Regions from separate parts of the Homo sapiens genome. Here regions 1, 2 and 3 are each linked to region 4. Evidence: promoter capture Hi-C in human tissues and cell types (Jung and others, 2019). All regions are on one chromosome and are shown on one strand. The core of a region is centred on a gene start or on the middle of the fragment in contact, and the rest is flanking DNA. Distances in the headings are between cores, read along the strand shown. Region 1 overlaps CUL4A (cullin 4A). Region 2 holds the start of TFDP1 (transcription factor Dp-1). Region 3 overlaps CUL4A (cullin 4A). Region 4 holds the start of ADPRHL1 (ADP-ribosylhydrolase like 1).

Region 1 (2,700 bases), core at 45-2,544, 190 kb before region 4:
TTTTTATCAGAATGTATGTATTAATGCTATTTGTCTTTGTATATTTATTTTATTTCCAGCCACTTTACAAAACTCTTTAGCTTTGAAAGTTTTTCTGTTGATTTTCTTGGATTTTCCAGCTCATCTACAAATAATGATCGTTTTGTCTGCACCTTTTCAATATACCTCTTTAGTCTGTTCCTGTATTGCATAGTTAGAACCTCTAAAGTAATGTTTTTAAGGAATAGCAGTGCAGCTGAGCTTCCTAATTTTATCTCTAGTTCAGAGGATGTTAACTTTTTGGGGGTCATGGATCCTGTTGAAAATGTGATGAAAGCTTGGAGTCTCTCCCATCCTGAAGCATACTTGCCTCATATGTATGCACAGACCTTCCCCCAGCCCTCATTTCAACTGCAGATCCCCATCAGGTTCCTGTTGGACTAAGGTTAAGTTGTCTCTAGTATTTGCTGTTTGTTTCTGATAACCATGTTTTATCATGTTCAGATGCTTTTTTATTCATCCTTGTATGCTAATGTTTGTTTTAAATCAAAAAATCAATTTTATCATGCCTTTTCAGCATCTATCAAGATGGTCATGTAATCTAACCTTTCAACTGCTACAGTGCTCTCACTTATATTCACAGATTTCCTAATGTTGATCAACACTTAACATTTCTGGAATATATCCTGATGGTCATTATGTTTTGTTTACTGTGCTGCTAGTTTTAATCTACATCACACATAGAGTTGTTGCAGCTTTCTTATAAGGAAAATAACTTTTAAAAATATTTTTTAAGTTTTGGTTTTGGAGTTTTGCTATTCTGGGAAGGTACCTTTTACTACAACAAGTAAACATGCATAATAAAGTAGGATTCATCCAATGTCTGACCTTTCTTTGCATCAAAAGAACATTTCCGGCCAGGCACGGTGGCTCACGCCTGTAATCCCAGCACTTTGGGAGGCCGAGCCAGGTGGATCACGAGGTCAGGAGATCGAGACCAGCCTGGCTAACATGGTGAAACCCTGTCTCTACTAAAAATACAAAAATGAGCCGGGCATGGTGGGGGGGCACCGTAGTCCCAGCTACTTGAGAGGCTGAGACAGGAGAATGGCGTGAACCCGGGGGGCGGAGCTTGTAGTGAGCCGAGATCGCGCCACTGCACTCCAGCCTGGGTGACAGAGTGAGACTCCGTCTCAAAAAAAAAAAAAAAACCATTTCCCATCAAATTCGGTAACATCAGGTCATTAATATTGAAATATAGGCCAGGTGTGGTAGCTCACACCTGTAATCCCAGCACTTTGGGAGGCCAAGGTGGGCGGATCATCTGAGGTCAGGAGTTCAAAACCAGCCTGGCCAACATAGTGAAACCCTGCCTGTACAAAAATACAAAAAGTAGCCGGGCATGACAGCAGGTGCCTGTGATCCCAGCTACTCGGGAGGCTGAGGCAAGAGAATCGCTTGATCCTGGGAGGCGGAGGTTGCAGTGAGCCGAGATCACACCATTGCACTCTAGCCCAGGCAACTGAGTGAGACTCCATCGCAAAAAATAAAAAGAAAATACAGTTTTACACTTAACTTTTTTTTTCTTTTTTATACAGGTTGAGGAACAGGTTAGCACCACTGAGAGAGTGTTTCAGGATAGACAATATCAGATTGATGCTGCTATCGTCAGAATAATGAAGATGAGAAAGACTCTTGGTCATAATCTTCTAGTTTCTGAATTATATAATCAGCTGAAATTTCCAGTAAAGGTAAATGTAACATTAGCATAATTAAATTTGTAGTATTTGCTAAACAATTGACAAAGCATGTTTAATTCTATGTTCAGTCATATCATTTGACCTGCATTATTCATGGTGCTTTGTGTATACACTGAATGTAGAAAAACTGGCAAATGTGAAGCTCTTTATTCCAGGTGTTGCTCATTGCCACTGCAGAAATGATAGAGCCCTAAAACTCTCCTTCCCAGGGATGGTGCGCGCTTGTTCATATTTTCAGGAAGGGAAGAGGTAGATGGGACATGGAAAGCTGAACACTTTTCTCATAGTAGTAGCGGTCAAGGTTACATCACAAGATTTTAAGGAAATGATAACAATAACTAACTTACTCAGCGTTTACAGCCTACACCGCGTTTTCCACCACGGTAATAGTCTACTGTTGCTGTTGCTTATGAAAGTCAGCCCAGGCCTGTCAACCCGCGTTGTTTTCAGAACTGAGATTTACTGTCCTGCCACGTGTGGGATGCAGGATAAGCCGGGAAAGTATTATGAAACGTTTTTTACATGTATTTATCAACCCAGGAAATACTGAACTCTGATGACGCCTGGCCTCTCAGGGACAGGACCGGCCACACGTGCTTTGGAGGGAAAGTCCCCAGATTCCATGTTGTGCAGTTTGAGCCTCCCATTCCATCAAGGGAATAAAGTTGAGATGCACTAAATAGTCGAACACTTAAGAGTCTGGTGGAAGTGCCACTGTCCATCAGCCCACATTTGCCCCCTTCCCTGCAGAGGTGAGGTGCCGTCCTCAGGGCCCTGGGAAGCTCCAAAAGCACCATCAGGTTCACTGCCCCTTCCTCCCACCAGCTGGAGCAAGTCTCCTGTTGCCACTGCAAACAATCAGGCCCAGCGCGAAGCAGAGGTGAGCAAGAGTGGAGTGTGGCAGACCAGGGCACCTGCTCTGCTCTCGGGTAGAGAGTGGCAGACCAGGGCGCCCACTCTG
Region 2 (2,700 bases), core at 182-2,681, 130 kb after region 4:
CACACACACCTGCTCTCCTCCGTGTGTCCACATACACACGTCTATGCACACACCTGCTCTCCATACATGCACAGCCCCACACACAGTCGGCCCTTTATGTGCACACACACTCGTGCACACAAGCGGCCCCCTCTCCTCCGTGCATACAGGCGCACACACAGCTGGCTCTCCTCTTTGAGCACACACACTCAAGCACACACCCGGCCCCGCTCTTCCAAGTGCACACACACTCCTGCACACACTAGTCCCTGCTCCCCCCCCCACACTCGCGCACACAGCCGGCACTCTCTGCTCCCTGCACACAAACACACATCCTGACATACCCGGCCCCCTACCTGCTGCCCCATGTGCACACACACTAGTGCACACACCAGTCCCCGCTCCCTCACATGCACACACACTAGTGCACACACCAGTCCCCGCTCCCTCACATGCACACACACTAGTGCACACACCAGTCCCCGCTCCCTCACATGCACACACACGAGTGCACACACCAGTCCCCGCTCCCTCACATGCACACACTAGTGCACACACCAGTCCCCGCTCCCTCACATGCACACACTAGTGCACACACCAGTCCCCGCTCCCTCACATGCACACACTAGTGCACACACCAGTCCCCGCTCCCTCACATGCACACACACGAGTGCACACACCAGTCCCCGCTCCCTCACATGCACACACACGAGTGCACACACCAGTCCCCGCTCCCTCACATGCACACACACGAGTGCACACACCAGTCCCCGCTCCCTCACATGCACACACACGAGTGCACACACCAGTCCCCGCTCCCTCACATGCACACACACGAGTGCACACACCAGTCCCCGCTCCCTCACATGCACACACACTAGTGCACACACCAGTCCCCGCTCCCTCACGTGCACATGCACTAGTGCACACACTAGTCCCTGCTCCCCCACGTGCACACACACTCTTGCACACAGCCGGCCCCGCTCCCCCACGTGCACACACCAGCTCCCGCTCCCCCACATGCACACACACTCGTGCACATAGCCGGCCCCGCTCCCCCATGTGCACACACACTCTTGCACACAGCCGGCCACCTCTCTCTCCGGACACACACAGTCAGAGGCGCGCACAAACACAGTCCCTTGGCCGCCGAGCGCACGCCGCGCGCGCGCACTGCCCGTCCCGGCGCAGGCCCCAGCTACATCTCCGCACGCGCACGCGCACACACGGACACGCGCGCACAGCCCCTCCCCGCTCTCCCAGGGCGCGCAGCACTGGCGGGAGGAGCGGGAGACCGAGGAGCAGCAGAAGAGGAGGAGGAGGGCGCCGAAGGCGCGAAAAGGCGCGCAGGCGCGCTGCGCGGAGCGGGCCCGCCGCCGCCCACGTCACCGCGCCGCGCGCACGTCACGCCGGCCCGACGCTCGGCCAGGGTGAGCCCCGCGTCCCGGCGCCACTCGGCCCAGGGCAGGGACCCCGCCACGGCCGGGACCGCCCGGCCCGGCCCCAGCCCGCGCCTCTCCGCGCCGCCCCGCGCTCCGCACCGCGCCCTCTCCGCGTCCCCGCCCGCGCGGCCGGACCGGGCAGCCAGGTGCGGGTGGGCAGGGGATGCCGCGGGAGCCGCGGGCGGGAGCCGGGGGTGCGGGCGGGACCCCCGGCCACCCCATCCCTTGCCCCGGCCGCGTGTAGGCGCCGCGCGGCCCCGACCCGCGCCCTCCCGCGCCCTGCGCGCTCCTGTGCCTCGGGGACCCCGCGCGCTCGGCGCTGGTAGGGGCTCCCCAGGTGACCGCGGGGCGGGGGTCCCGGGCCCGGCCCTCCCGGCCGACAGCAGCGTCCGCGCCCCACGCTGGAGGTGGGGCCGGGGCCGGGGCCGGGGCTGGGGCCAGGGTCGGCCGGAGCGCGCAGGGCGGGGGAGGGGAGGCCGCCCCACGGCGGCCCGCGGGGACCCGGTTCCGGCGCGCGCGGGAGGCGCCTCGTGCGGAGGCGGCCCGAGGCCTAGTGACAGGCGCGCGGCGCGGACCCCGGAAGCCCACCTGTCAGAGTTACCGGTCAGCCGGGCGGGCGCCGCCGGGGTCTGGGGTGGACGCCGCGAGCCTGCACGTTGCGCCGGGACCCCGGGGCTGTGCCCAGGTGGGTGGTGGGGCACCCCCCTGCAGCGGCGGGAGGGAGGCGCTGCGCCCTGGCTCCTGGGGCTCGGCCCCACCCTCGGCCGCTGGGCGGGCCGTCGGGGACCTGGGGGTAGTGGTGGTGACCCTGCGGGCCCGCGGGCCACTTTTCCGCAGGGGGCATTTCCGTCTGGCGAGGCGACTGAAAATCCTGAGTGTGGGAGTCGGTTTGGCCAGCTCCGCTCTCAGGATGGAGGGTGCCTTTGGGAAGGAAGGTCCGCGTTTCCTTTGAGATGTGTTATTTTTTAAACTTCGTTTTTCATTCTTACTTATTTCTTGTTTTTCCTTACTTTTTTTTTTTTTTTTACCAGAAAAATCATTTTTCTTCTCTGGGAAGGTGAACATTTGTAGCATTGATTTCCCGGATCTGGTAACATGGCAAAAGATGTAAGTATGTTTGCTTCATGCTGCACACGAATGTTTGCCTCGCACTAAATTCTTTGTAGTTCTCTGCCTTTATTTCAGAATGACAACACATAAGCTACAGTAGTGTTTATTTTCAGACTTTTAAAGCGTCTGAAGCGGGATGAAGGTGAAAGATGGAAGGATCTGATCTCTG
Region 3 (2,734 bases), core at 57-2,556, 230 kb before region 4:
CTGTCCAGATGCACTTGGGATGGGTTTTTTTGTTTTGTCCAGACTGTTTCTGTAGATTCCTAATATAATGAGCCATTATAATTTTGAACAATTTGTAAAGAGTACTTCCAGAGGAACCTGTTAACCATTCAACCATTAGGTCTTTGCTGTAAGTGTCTGTTTTTAATTTTCTGGCAGTGCTTCTGAGAATTCTGCAAAGCCTCAAGAAAAAATAGAGTAAGCTGTCTTAGCCAGGCCCCTGTAGCTTTGGTCACAGCACTTCCTGGTGTGACAAGGACTCAGACCCCCCGGGAGCCCCTTGGCTATCCTCAGCACTGTTTATTCCTCCTCAGGCTCTGCCTGGCACCCTACCCTCCCTGGCACTCTTTCTTTGTCAGGCCACTCGTTGCCACCCTGAGACTCCAGCTCATGTCTGATTTGTGCATCCTACTTAACTGATGTGTTTTTCCTCCTCTCTGTGTGTGAGGATGTTGTCACCACCTCACATTGGCTCTTGAGTGTGAAGTGTCTTGCTGCACGGCAGAAACAGACCTAGAGAAGTCCCTTGGTTTGGCCAGTATTGTGTTGCTGACAGGCGGTGGATCAAGAGTTAAAATGTAGGAAGTCCATGTTCTGTCCCCTTTGACAAGCCATTTTCTTAATCTGTACAAAGGGAACAATGTCTGCACCACGAGGTTGGGGAGATTTTCAGTGAGAGTGGATGTGAAGAGTGTTTCGTAAACCATAAAGCAGTTTATTGTCATTGATGATTCTCAGCTTTGCATGAACCTGAGGGACACCAGACCACTTGCTCTAGGAGCCCATATTCTGGGTTCTTTGTCCTAAACTACTTTTTGGGCCTTTTCCTAAAAATACACATTCTAAGAGTCAAGGTAAGAGTGTTCCTAATTTGGTGCATGGATGAGAGTTCATGTTAGTTTTCATTGAGGCTGGAAGTTAAACCTGAGCCATTTTCCTGTCCAGCTGCACTTTGCCACAGGCTGGGCACACTGGCTCATACCTGTAATCCTAGCACTTTGGGAGACTGAGGAGGATTACTTAAGACCACGTGTTCAAGACCAGCCTAGGAGTATAGTGAGGTGCCATCTCTTTTAATTTTTAAAAAATAGTCCTAGTGACTCTTACCAGGCCAGTCACCATCTCCAGGAGCCCCCCTGTGGGAGTATGTTCAGTGTCTGCCCTTTGTGAAGTGGGGCCTTTTGTCCCGCCACCTACCCCCAGGGCACTTAAGGCCTGGGTGTGTTTCTGCCGGCAGGGACTTGAAGGTGTCTGGCAGTGAAGGAAGGAGAGGATGAAGGGAGGCTGGAGAGGGAGTGGCGAGCGGCCAGAGGCAGGCGGGGCCGTGGGAAGGGAAAGCAGCACAGGCAAGCTGAGTGCACATTGGTGATGAGATACAGAGATCCATGATTGAACTTCTAGTGTATCTTAGCCCACTGGGGCTGCCATGACAAAACACCATAGAGTGTGGCTCATCAACAGCAGGAGTCTGTTGCTCACAGCTCTGGAGGCTGGAGGTCCAGGGTCAAGGCACTGGCAGATTGCATGTCTGGTGGGGCCCCGCTTCCTGGTCCATAGCCAGCACCTTCTCACTGCATCCTTATGTGGTGGAAGAGGCAGGGGAGCTCTCTGGGGTCTCTTTTGTAACCCCATTCTTGAGGCTTGTCCACTCTCATGACCTAATCACCTCCCAGAGGCCCTGCCTCCTAACACCATTACCGTAGAGTGAGAGCTTCAGCCTATGAATTTTGGGGGGACATGAACATTCAAGACTAATATTCTTTCAGTATTCCAGTTACTGAATGGTGTGTAGTATTCAGTGGAGAAGGTAGCTGAAATTAAGGGGTTAAAATTGTAATAATGGCCGGTTGCGGTGGCTCACGCCTGTAATCCCGGCACTTTGGGAGGCTGAGGCCAGTGGATCACAAGGTCAGGAGTTCGAGATCAGCCTGACCAACATGGTGAAACCCCGTCTCTACTAAAAATACAAAAAATTAGCTGGGCGTGGTGGCACACGCCTGTAATCCCAGCTACTCAAGAGGCTGAGGCAGGAGAATCGCTTGAACCTGGGAGGCAGAGGCTGCACTGCTGAGCTAAGATCGTGCCACTGCACTCCAGCCTGGGCGACAGAGCGAGACTCCATCTCAAAAAAAAAAAAAAAGGTAATAATTAAATTGGCCAGCATTTTTAAAGTTTTCCTTAGCAGATCTGTACAGACTCACTAGATAGTGTTTTATTTTTAAAGAAGATTAACACGTGCTGGCAGGACCACTGCAGACAAATGGTAAGCTTGTTCACTTTTTCATCAAAACACGACCTCATCCATCTTCCCTCACCCACATGATTGAGAGCTGAGACATAGAAGTTCTGTTGAGGATTCTGTCTGTGTTCAGTGCTGTGGTTGAACAGCACGATGAGAAAAGCAGGGAAGGTGAACTCCTCAGCTCCTGTGAGAGGGCACCACTGACCCTCTTGGCCTTCAGGTCCACAGTCACAGTCCGCAGTGGTGACAGGGTTCTTAGATGCCTGCATGGGTCTCTAAATGTCTCTTTAAGCACAGTTTACTCCTCAGAATCTAGCCTGAATCCCAGGTCTTTCCTGCAGCTGCACAACCAGCGTCTTAGGCTTTGTAGATGTCTTGGCTTTGACTTGACGTCATGTATACATTTTTAGTGTGACCTGGCCGTTAATTACTTAAGTGAGAGAACAGACCGTATTAATAGCTTTCCTAAGTAGG
Region 4 (2,785 bases), core at 43-2,542:
AGTGGCCGCCTGGAAAACCAGAAGCAGGAGCTCCTGGACGCCAAGGCTGTGAACAGTCGGACGCCTCCCCGTCTCCAGCAAGCCGGGAGCCTTATCTTATCGCCGGCGCTTCAGCTCTCCCGTTATTTAGGGACCGGCCACAGGCTCGATGGCATTCCTCTGCTGTGAGCACAGAACTAAACTGGGCACGTCCATGGCAGATGAACAGAATGGTGGAGTGAACGCATAAGTGAGATTTCATTGACTTAGCTGCAGCCCTCAGATTTTAATTCTGCCATGATAAACAGCACCCACGGGGTTTTGAAGAGCAAATGCCTCGTAGGAAAGCTGGACTGCATGTCTGTGCACCTGCCATTTCCCTGAAATTCATGCAAAAGCTTGATCCTAAAATCAATTTGCTACTTAAAGGTATTTTAAGAAGCTTTGTCTCCAATCTCGTCCAATCAAGTTTATGTCATTTTCTTAGAACACATTTGTGTATGGGCAACTCTCCAAGCTGAACCATTTTGGGAGATGATATTCTAACTTTAATTCATTGGAATTTAGAACTAATCCCCAAACAGTATTAATGGGTTCACATTTCAAACTGGCTTATTTTACATCCCTTTGTAATGAATTCAGAACAAGAAGGCTTAATCTCTGCAGCGAGAAGTGAGCCCTCACCCTACTCCCACCAGCACGGCCGAGAGAGGCTTCACTGGCTTTAACTCTATTAGAAACAGAAGGTGCTAGGCCTAGTTAACGCTTTACAAATACAAGTGAAAAGTCACGTTTAAAAACTGAATCTTAATAACTGCAAAGTAAAGTAATACTGTCACCCTCAGAGAAACCACAGGAGAAACGTGATCTGCCGCATATCAAATTTGAGGGACACTCAGATTAAATTGCCACTTTTAGCAGCGGTATCAGGTAACACCATCCGCTGAAGGACCGCACTGCCTTCAAAGCTCTCGGAGGCTTACTGGGAGAACTCGAGCAGCCAGTGTTCCCTCCAGCCCGCACACCGGAGCGCGGTGGGCCCAGCCTACCTGTGGTGAGGGCCTCGGCGGTTGCGATGTGCATGATGGTGTTGTCACTCACGGGCCATTCTCCTGGCGAGAGTACGAGGTGGTCCAGGCCCCCGGAACGTTGCAGCTCCTCCTGGATCTTCATGCCTACAGTGCTGTTCTCCTTGCAGACATTTCTGTAGCCAAGAGCATCGCCGACGCTCCCCAGCAACATCGCAGCCTTAAATTTCTCCATCCCAGGAGGCAGCTCCTCTTCCCCAACAGCTGCGGAGCGTCCTGGCCTTTGTCTCCTCCTCAGCCCGCCTGACTTTTATAGTGGTCACTGTGTCACTGTCAGGAGCGTCCTCTGATGGCCAGGCGCTCCTTGTCTATCTCTGCAGGTGGCACCAATGAGAGGACCTTTCTGTCCCCCACGTGGGAGGTGTCAGTTTTCTTCTGCGTCTGGACAGGCACCAGCTCCTCAGCAGAGGAGCCTGCTAGCTTCTGCCGGCAGCCGCAGCACATTCAGAGCGTTGACAGAGCAGGGGCTCCTCTCGCTGTCCCTGGAAGGAGTGCGCACACTTCCCCGTGTGTGGCGTGGGGTGATGCGGGAGCAGATGTGTGCAGGCGTGCCTGTCACTGCCGCCCGCTGCGGGGCGTGCCCTCACCCCTCGGGCAACAACCCATCTGCTGTCTCTACAGTTCTGCCTTTCCTGGACATTTCAAATACAATGTGTGGCCTTCGGTGTCTGGCTTCCTTCACTCAACATAATGTTGAGATTAATCTGTGACATGCGGTTTTATCATTTAGAAAACTTTTCGATTATGAAATGTGTTTTTGATAGAAAACTTTTAAAAAATGCAGTGTAGAGGGAACAAAGTCTATCTAGCTCCTGTGTGAACAATGACGGTGTCTTCTCAGCATGCGGTGTTTAACGGCTCCCAAATAATTGGACTGCACTGAGGGGGAAAGTCGTCAGCAAACCGCAGGCTTCACTAGAACCTCCCATCCGGCCCTCGGTCAGCTCAGTGTATTTACATCATCCCTGCTAGCTCATGAAAAGAATATTAAAAAATATGGAGACGGGGGGTGAGGCAGAATGCACACAGCCAGGGTTCCTGGTTTGAAATAAATTAGGAAAACAGTCCATCTCCCGACCCCACCCCAGGACAGTTCTCCGCAGAGGCCGGGAGCCCAGCAGGGCTGTGTCTCTCCCGTCTCCTTCCTCGGGGCCTGGTTTCCATCAGACCCAGGGGAAGCAAAGAGTTACACCTGGACTGAAGAAATGCGTCTGATAAAAACTCTCGTAGTGTACAGCGAGACAGTAGGAAGCATTTAACCGCCTGGCGTTATATCAGCACTTGTTAAAACGGAGGATCTCAAGCAGTGAGTTCACCTCACCCTCCACTGTCTGCTGGTGGAGGCAGCCATCAGCACAGTCATGCCAGCTAGCATGATCCTGAGATTCAGAAACAAACTTCAAAACCAGCATGCAGGCCGGGCGCGGTGGCTCATGGCTGTAATCCCAGCACTTTGGGAGGCCGAGGCGGGCGGATCCCCTGAGCTCAGGATTTTGAGGCCAGCCTGACCAATATGATGAAACCCCGTCTCTACTAAAAATACAAAAATTAGCCGGGCATGGTGGTGGGCACCTGTAATCCCAGCTACTTGGGAGGCTGAGATAGGAGGATCACTTGAACCTAGGAGGCAGAGGTTGCAGTGAGCCGAGATCACGCCATTGCACTCCAGCCTGGGCAACAAGAGCAAAACTCTGTCTCAGAAACAAACAAACAAACAA

The links. Contacts are between HindIII fragments. The study calls those that stand out against the background at their distance.
Region 1: a contact is called between a fragment that was not itself captured here and the fragment with the promoter of ADPRHL1 in region 4, in 1 of the 25 tissues and cell types used here (mesendoderm cells).
Region 2: a contact is called between the fragment with the promoter of TFDP1 here and the fragment with the promoter of ADPRHL1 in region 4, in 1 of the 25 tissues and cell types used here (heart right ventricle).
Region 3: a fragment that was not itself captured here is called in contact with the fragment with the promoter of ADPRHL1 in region 4 in 1 of the 25 tissues and cell types used here (H1 embryonic stem cells).

Annotation. Positions count from the first base shown.
Region 1 is chr13:113,259,030-113,261,729 of GRCh38, forward strand. It overlaps CUL4A (cullin 4A), which reads left to right. Exons shown (of 20, transcript NM_001008895.4): 19 at 1,578-1,730. Among named protein-coding and RNA genes, the nearest start is that of MIR8075, 2.5 kb to the right of the region's middle. The HindIII fragment of the contact is 6,677 bases long and covers 1-2,700 here.
Region 2 is chr13:113,583,322-113,586,021 of GRCh38, forward strand. It overlaps TFDP1 (transcription factor Dp-1), which reads left to right and starts at 1,432. Exons shown (of 12, transcript NM_007111.5): 1 at 1,432-1,567; 2 at 2,453-2,528. The coding sequence starts at 2,517. RefSeq lists enhancers at 1-254, 255-1,226 and silencers at 1,195-1,524, 1,895-2,264. The HindIII fragment of the contact is 44,568 bases long and covers 1-2,700 here.
Region 3 is chr13:113,225,765-113,228,498 of GRCh38, forward strand. It overlaps CUL4A (cullin 4A), which reads left to right. Exons shown (of 20, transcript NM_001008895.4): 4 at 2,212-2,281. Among named protein-coding and RNA genes, the nearest start is that of CUL4A, 18 kb to the left of the region's middle. The HindIII fragment of the contact is 5,587 bases long and covers 1-2,734 here.
Region 4 is chr13:113,452,196-113,454,980 of GRCh38, forward strand. ADPRHL1 (ADP-ribosylhydrolase like 1) reads right to left here and starts at 1,293. Exons shown (of 8, transcript NM_001394807.1): 1 at 1,029-1,293. The coding sequence starts at 1,242. The HindIII fragment of the contact is 9,965 bases long and covers 1-2,785 here.